2 separate regions of the Homo sapiens genome follow, and region 1 is linked to region 2. Evidence: promoter capture Hi-C in human tissues and cell types (Jung and others, 2019). All regions are on one chromosome and are shown on one strand. The core of a region is centred on a gene start or on the middle of the fragment in contact, and the rest is flanking DNA. Distances in the headings are between cores, read along the strand shown. Region 1 overlaps MEIOB (meiosis specific with OB-fold). Region 2 holds the start of TSR3 (TSR3 ribosome maturation factor).

The links. The method cuts DNA at HindIII sites, captures the fragments that hold promoters and counts their contacts. A contact is called where the count stands out against the background at its distance.
Region 1: a fragment that was not itself captured here is called in contact with the fragment with the promoter of TSR3 in region 2 in 1 of the 25 tissues and cell types used here (dorsolateral prefrontal cortex).

Annotation. Positions count from the first base shown.
Region 1 is chr16:1,831,766-1,835,724 of GRCh38, forward strand. MEIOB (meiosis specific with OB-fold) reads right to left here. Exons shown (of 14, transcript NM_001163560.3): 14 at 2,221-2,601. The coding sequence ends at 2,491. It also overlaps a transcript of FAHD1 not described here. Among named protein-coding and RNA genes, the nearest start is that of FAHD1, 6.5 kb to the left of the region's middle. RefSeq lists a silencer at 1,083-1,377. The HindIII fragment of the contact is 8,140 bases long and covers 1-3,959 here.
Region 2 is chr16:1,350,484-1,354,298 of GRCh38, forward strand. TSR3 (TSR3 ribosome maturation factor) reads right to left here and starts at 1,395. Exons shown (of 6, transcript NM_001001410.3): 1 at 1,210-1,395; 2 at 896-1,115; 3 at 324-517. The coding sequence starts at 1,321. It overlaps GNPTG (N-acetylglucosamine-1-phosphate transferase subunit gamma), which reads left to right and starts at 1,448. Exons shown (of 11, transcript NM_032520.5): 1 at 1,448-1,534; 2 at 1,619-1,676; 3 at 1,756-1,823. The coding sequence starts at 1,483. RefSeq lists a silencer at 973-1,672. The HindIII fragment of the contact is 21,021 bases long and covers 1-3,815 here.

The DNA.
Region 1 (3,959 bases), core at 1,033-3,532, 480 kb after region 2:
TGGTGGCATGAGATTCTCACAGGAGCGTGAACCCTTTTGTAAACTGCACATGCGAGGGATCTAGGTTGCGCACTCCTTATGAGTATCTAATGCCTGGATCTGAGGTGGAACTGTTTCATCCTGAAACCATCCCCGCCCCCCGACCCGGCAATCCGTGGAAAAACTGTCTTCCACCAAACCATTCCCAGGTGCCAAAAAGTTTGGGCCGCTGCTCTACATCATTGGCACTTGTTTGTTTCCTTAGGGAAGTCTTAGAAGTGAAATCAATGAAATGGTTTGCACTTTGAAATTTTGACACTTTTTGCCAAATTGCAGAGGAAAAAAAACTACCATGTTGCACTTGACAAGACTGTTTAAGAATACCTTTACACCGACACCCCAGCTAAGGCTGGGCATCATGGCTATGGTCATTCTTTTTTTTTTTTTTTGAGACAAAGTCTTGCTCTGTTGCCCACGCTGCAGTGGCATGATCTCGGCTCACTGCAAGCTCCGCCTCCCGGGTTCACGCCATTCTCCTGCCTCAGCCTCCCGAGTAGCTGGGACTACAGGCGCCCTCCACCACACCCGGCTAATTTTTTTGTATTTTTAGTAGAGACAGGGCTTCACCGTGTTAGCCAGGATGGTCTACATCTCCGGACCTCGTGATCCACCCACCTCAGCCTCCCAAAGTGCTGGGATTACAGGCGTGAGCCACCGCGCCTGGCCTATTTTCCTCTTTTTCTTAAAAATATAAGTGTCAGCTGGGCACGGTGGCTCACGCCTGTAATCCCAGCACTTTGGGAGGCCGAGGTGGGTGGATCACTTGAGCCCAGGAATTCAAGACCAGCCTGGGCAAAATGCCAAGATCACTGTCTCTACAAAATGTTTTAAAATTAACCGAGTAAGGTGGCTTCTCCTGAGCTCCTGGACACGGGGCTCAGTGGAGGGGGCACCATACCCACTCTTGCTGAACCAACAGTGGGAGCCAAGCCAGCACCAACCACGACACCCTCACTTCTCTCCTCTCCTTCCTTCCCTGTCCACCCTCCCCATTCACCTGGCTTCACAAACCCCCCAGTTCTCCCCAAGGGAGGATGGAAGGCCTGTTCTGCACAACTAGGTCAAGTCGTTCATTACCTTATCACCACAATTTGGACACTTAGGGGTGAACCTGCATCCCTCCTCTGTGGCTGCACATGGTAAAAGCCAGATAAAACATGACTGACGATGGTTTATCTCCCAACACCAGCCTTAGGAAACAGTTTCATATACTCACTTTTTCCTTTTTTTTCAATCCTGTGGTGGAGGGCATGTAGCCTTCTAAAGTACCAGGTCAAACCTCCCAGGCCGTGGGTCAACACTGACCTTAGCGGTGGGTCTTCACAGCTGGAGTCTGCGCCCTGAAGCAAGTGACTCTCAATGGTGTGCAGTTGAGCCGTTTACTTTGTGGCTGCTGCAAAGCAAACAGATAAAGTGGCAGCTGTCGTCCTCATGTCCTGAGTAGGTCCCCCTCAGAGTTCTGAGACCCAGGCATGCTCATGAACCTTTTGAAGTTGGTCTCCTCCCAGTTGATTCAGACTCAGTCATGTCAGCCCTGAGCCAGCAAGCCTCCACAAGCACTGGGCACTCCAGTGTGTCACCAGAGAAGACCAGGGACTAGAAGAGCCCCAGGTGCTCAAAGCAGTCGCACAGGATTGCCCACGACTTTGGCTATTCCCACCCAGCACCAAGAGCCCCTTGCCCTCATCCTGTCAGATCTGTCAGATGACGAGTCACCACCCAGCTCTCAGAAAGTAGTCTTTAGAGGTACTTTTTTTTTTTTTTTTTTTTTTTTTAAGACAGAGTCTCGCTCTGTCGCCCAGGCTGGAGTGCAGTGGCTGGATCTCAGCTCACTACAACCTCCTCATCCCAGGTTCAAGAGATTCTCCTGCCTCAGCCTCCCGAGTAGCTGGGACAACAGGCACGTGCCACCACACCCAGCTAATTTTTTGTATTTTTAGTAGAGATGGGGTTTCACTGTGTTAGCCAGGATGGTCTCGATCTCCTGACTGCCTTGGCATCCCAAAGTGCTGGGATTACAGGCATGAGCCACCGTGCCCAGCCCTTGAGGTCCTACTCTTTTTCCAGGGAACCAAGACAAATAATAAACTGGCTTAAGAAAATAAATCATTCACTCAGGATTAAGAAACTCACTCAAAGCCGTTCAACTACATGGAAAAGAAAATAAATCATTCAAATCTGTAGAAGATTAAATCTGTTTATTAATTCATGTAAACATTTTCCAACTTGGGAGGAGACAAGGCAAAGACAGTAGGAGGCCTTCTAAGAAGGGAGGTCAGATGAGAGAGGCCTTCAGACTCACCCAGACCACCTCCACCATAACAATTTCTAGAAACATGTTCACCACATGTAAACAAAATGCAATTTTCCCCATAATTTTCAAATTAATATTCCATTTTAAAGGGAGTTAAAACTCTTATACTTTTCCAGAGTTCAAAATGATAGACCGTTTTAAACATGTTTTTGTCCAGACAAGTTTCTGCTTGCCTCAGTAGGATCTGCAAGCTTGCACGAGAGTACACTAATTTTCAATCCACTCCTTGCTCTGTGTGATAGAACGAACTGCGAGGAGAAACAGAAAAAGAGACAAAAGGTTAATTTTTAAAATCCCCTTGTATATCAAGTTGAAAAATCAATGATCACGAATAGAGAACTGCAATGAAAGTTTTGTTTACAGATACTAATATAAACTTCCATTAGAGCTGTAAGATGATGGGAAGAGTTCCAGTCTCGGAGTACAGTTAATTTACAGGCCCAGCTTCTGACTGATTTTGTAAAAATTTTGTCACTTTTCATGCTATTTCTCTCAGGTAGGAAAGTTGGGATTAAAAGTCTAATGTGGCCGGGTGCTGGTGCAGTGGCTCACGCCTGTAATCCCAGCACTTTGGGAGGCCAAGGCGGGTGGATCACCTGAGGTCAGGAGTTCGAGACCAGCCTGGCTAACATGGTGAAACTCCCATTTCTACTAAAAATACAAAAAATTAGCCGGGCATGGTGGCACACACCTGTTATCCCAGCTACTCAGAAGGCTGAGGCAGGAGAATCCCTTGAACCCGGGAGGCAGAGGTTGCAGTGAGCAGAGATTGTGCCATTGCACTCCAGCTTGGGCAACTAGAGCGAAACTCTGTCCCCCCCACCCCCCCCCACTAAAAAAAATGTCTAATGCAGGGCTGGGTGAGGTGGCTCATGCCTGTAATCCCAGCACTTTGGGAGGCCAAGGCAGGTAGATCACTTGAGGCCTGAAGTTCAAGACCAGCCTGGCCAATAAAGTGAAACCCTGTCTCTACTAAAAATATAAAAATTAGCCAGGTGTGGTGGTGCACACCTGTGGTCCCAGCTACTCGGTGGCTGAGGCGGGAGGATCACTTGAGCCTGGGAAGGTTGAGGCTGCAGTAAGCTGTGATCGCACCACGTGCTCCAGCCTGTGTGACAGAGCGAGCAGAGTGAGACTGTGTCTCAAAAAAAAAAAAAAGTATAACATATGAAAAAGGGCTTAATGTGTGTTCAAACTACCAACTGTGATAGACTTTAAGCTGTAGCAGGGACTCAATCTGTGAGACTACAGGAATATGATGACATAATTTAATAATAGTCTTATTTTAATAGTCTTATTTTTTATAATTTATACAGCACTTTAACCAACATTTTATTTAATATAGAGTGGAAGGACATATCAACCACTTTAATTTCAAGACTGAGAGAAAAAAAAGTACCAACATCAGGGAAAACTGGGAAAGACTTTAAGTGGGCAATAACAATAAGTGGGTACCCTTTCAATGGAATGTTGTGGTAGTCTGACATTGGCTAGAACACGTTCAGAGCTGTCTGATTCTACAGGGGCTACACCTCCCATTGCACGGACTGAGCTGTTTTAGAACTAGGTTGTAGAAAGCTGACAGTGATTCGAATGACCCTGCTCA
Region 2 (3,815 bases), core at 145-2,644:
CTCATCAGGGCCTCTTTAGATCAGCAATTCAGTAAGGAGGACGTGGAGGATAAGGAGGATTCTCTGGGCAGTGGTGCCCTGATAATGAATGGCACCCCACACACCGGCCCTGATAGAACAGCGATCCCATTCTGCCTCTACTGCAACTCCACAGGCCGAAAACCTGAAGTGACAGTTGGGGCTGGAACCGTGGTCTGTCTGAACTGTTCCCCTGTCCGTCCCTTATGCTCCTCCTGGGGTCTGTCGGCAGGAAACATGATGCTGGGAGCATAGCAGGAACAGCAGGCCGCCGGGTCACACTGCTGTGGGGCCCCTGGACTCACCTACGATGCAGAAGGTGGCAGCAAACGCTTCCACGCAGGAAAGTCTGTAGGGCCGGCCATAGTTCACGGGGTTGGCGGCCACCAGGTAGGGCAACAGGCGCAAGTGGCTCCCTCGCATCTTCCCAAACGGTGTCTCGTCCAGCCTGGCCCAGGAGCAGTCGATGACGGCGACCCCAGACTGCGCCACCAGCTGTCTGCCAGGGACAGCATGGGATAAGTTCAGGAGCCAGCACTACCCAAGGTGGAGCATGCCCCGGAGAATGGCCTAGCTAAGGGATTCAGGGACATCATTCCGCCATCCCCAAACACCCTCAAACGGACTTCACGAGCAAGCTTTTGAGGCAGCTGCTTGGGGCACCTGGAGCATGTGTTTATTCACTCAACAAACGTTTATTACCCCAAAACCTCCTTTATCCCAGGCTCTGCGCTACGCAACGGAGGCAAACTAGACAGACGTTCCCTGCCCACGTGGGTGTGGATGTGGGTGCGACATACAAGTGCCACTAAACCATCCCTGAAGGGAACCACGCGCTGGAAATGAAGACGACCTCGGGCAGGCCTCCCGCGCCTACCTGTCTGCGGGGGACGCGTACTGCTTGCCCACGGGGCTCAGCACCAGACCGCCGAATCTGTGGCCCAGGCGCAGGCAGCGCACCAGCCCCAGGCGGGCCAGCTTGCGGCCCGTGCAGCGCCGGGGGTCGCAGTGGCCCAACTCCCACATGGCCAGCGTGCAGGGCAGCGCCGCCGGGCCCGGGCCGCCCTCGCCGTCAGCCGCCCCTGGCTCCACGGAAGCTGCACGAGAGAGAGAAGGGCACTCGGCCTCAGCGTGGGACCCCCGGGCAGGCCCTCAAACCCTGACCCGCTCTCCCCATCACGCCTCGCTCACCCTGCAGCGCGGCGCCGACCTCCTCGGCGAAGGCCTCCAGGGAGCGCGTCGGGAGGTGCCGAGGGCGGCCGCCTTCCGCCCCCGGCCCGCGCGCTGCCCTCCTGCGGCCCATGGCGCGGACCTGGGGTGCCGGGGACTCCCCACCCCACGGCCGCGCCCCTCGGCCTCCCAATGGGCTGTGCGGCTGCCAGCGCTTGCGCCGGACGCCACTTCCGGTCCCCGTGGTCACGTGACCGTCACTTCACGTGACCGCGCGGCGGCCGCTGCGGCGCGATGGCGGCGGGGCTGGCGCGGCTCCTGTTGCTCCTCGGGCTCTCGGCCGGCGGTGAGTGGCCCGGCCGTCCGCGTCCCCAGGCCCCGCGCGCGCTCTGCACCCCGGCCTCCCCGCTCACGGTCTCGCTCCCCGTAGGGCCCGCGCCGGCAGGTGCAGCGAAGATGAAGGTGGTGGAGGAGCCCAACGCGTTTGGGTGAGCAGCCTCGCGGGCTGGCGGCTCGAGCGGGGGACGGCCCGGGCCCGTTCCCCGCTGACCTTGCCGCTTCCCGTAGGGTGAACAACCCGTTCTTGCCTCAGGCCAGTCGCCTCCAGGCCAAGAGGGATCCTTCACCCGTGTCTGGTGAGTGAGGAGCGCTGTTGGCCGGCGCGGGGGTGGCCGCGGGGAGCAGCAACAGTGGAGGATGGATGAGTGACCCTGAGAGTTACGGCCCGGAGTCTAAAGCATTGGTTTGTCAGCCTTCTAAAATTAATGTGGAAGTACGAGAGAATATACCAGAACGTTCTTGTAGCGAATTAAATTATCTCCAGACTTAGTCCTTCCTTTCCTTTCCGAGAGGTAACTGCTGTTAATAGTCTGGTGACTTTGCAGACGCGTTTCTGTGCTTTTACGTGCGTGTCTATGCAACTGGAAAACGTATAGTTTTTGTAATCTAATCGCTTTTTTAAAAAATCATGCTGCGCGAGTATTTGGCTGATTTGTCGTTGTCACTCGCTGTATCTCTCGGGACGCTTCATGGTGATGATATAGGTCTTCGTTCTTTCTCTTGGTGCTCAGCACGCGATAGGATGGCACTGCACTCCCCGATTGTATTTAGGTTCTTGCCATTTTTTTGGCCATTAGAAATAGTTCTGTGGAGAACATGCTGTGTAGGTGCTTTGGTTTGCCCTCAGGTGAGCGGTTTCCCAGTGCAGGATTCCAGAAGTGGAATTGGTGGGTCATGAGTATATATATCATTTAAACGCTGAATGAGTATTAAATATAATAGACAAAAATCCAAGAATTTTTTTTTTTTTTTTTTTGAGACAAGAGTCTCGCTCTGTCGCCCAGGCTGGAGTGCAGTGGCACGATCTCGGCTCACTGCAACCTCCGCCTCCCAGGTTCAAGCGATCCTCATGCCTCAGCCTCCCGAGTAGCTGGGATCACAGGCATGCATCACCATCACGCCCAGCAAATTTTTGTATTTTTAGTAGAGATAGGGTTTATTTCACCGTATTGACCAGGCGGGTCTCGAACTCCTGACCTCAAGTGATCCGCCCATCTCGGCCTCCAAAAGTGCTGGGATTATAGGCGTGAGCCACCGCGCCCAGCTTTAGTAATTTTATTATCGAATACCTTTATGTGTTAGGGTCTGTGCTGGGGTTGCAGAAACGAACACAGATATACCAATGCTTGTCCTCATGGAGCTGACAGTCTAATGGGGAGGGATGGAGGAACAGGCACTGAGCCTGTAGAATTAGATAAAATACATAGAATGGCCAATGATGAAAAATGCCATGTAGATGTGTGAAGCAGAGGAGGGAGTGTGTGTATGTGTGTTAGAGTATTGTTTGGGGGATCGCTTTTTTTATTTTTTAGAGACGGGGTCTTGCTCTCTCACTCGGGCTGGAGTGCAGTAGTGCAATCATAGCTCACTGCATCCTTGAACTCCTGGGCTGAAGCAATCCACCAACCTCAGCTTCCTGAGTAGCTGGGACTACAGGTGCACGCCACCATGCCCGGCAAATGTTAAGTGTTCTTGTAGAGATGGAAGTCTCACTATGTTGCCCAGGCTGGCCCCAAACTCCCAGCGTCAAGCAATCCTCCTGTCTTGGTGGGGATTGCTTTAAATAGGGTGCTGAGGAAAAGTCTAAGAAGTGACATTTCAGCCAAAAGCTAAAGGAGAAAAGGGAGTAAAGCTGTGGCTATTTGGGGAAAGGGATCCAGGAAAGGGAGTGGCCAAAGGCCTTGAGCAGGACAGCCAGGGCCAGAGGGGATTCAGCTGGGGTAGCCACAGATCAGAGATAAAGGGGATCAGATGGTGCCGCACCGTGTTGGTAGGTTTGGTGGACTTTGACTCCAAACACATCTTTTTAAGTTTTTTGTTGTGTGGCTGGGCGTGATGGCGCACCTGGGGTTAGGCTCACTTCCCTGCGGCTCAGAAGCCATGGGATGGTGGCTTCCCAGGGCCTGAAGTGCTGGAGTCGGGCCACCACCTATCCCAAGAAGCTGGGGAGGAGGCAGGCCACTGTGTAACAGCGCAGTTCCCGACCGAACCCCTTCCAGTAGGAGAGAGGCAGCCTTGGCTAATGGGACCACGTCTTTTTGGAGGTGAGAGTCCTGGAAAGAAAACAG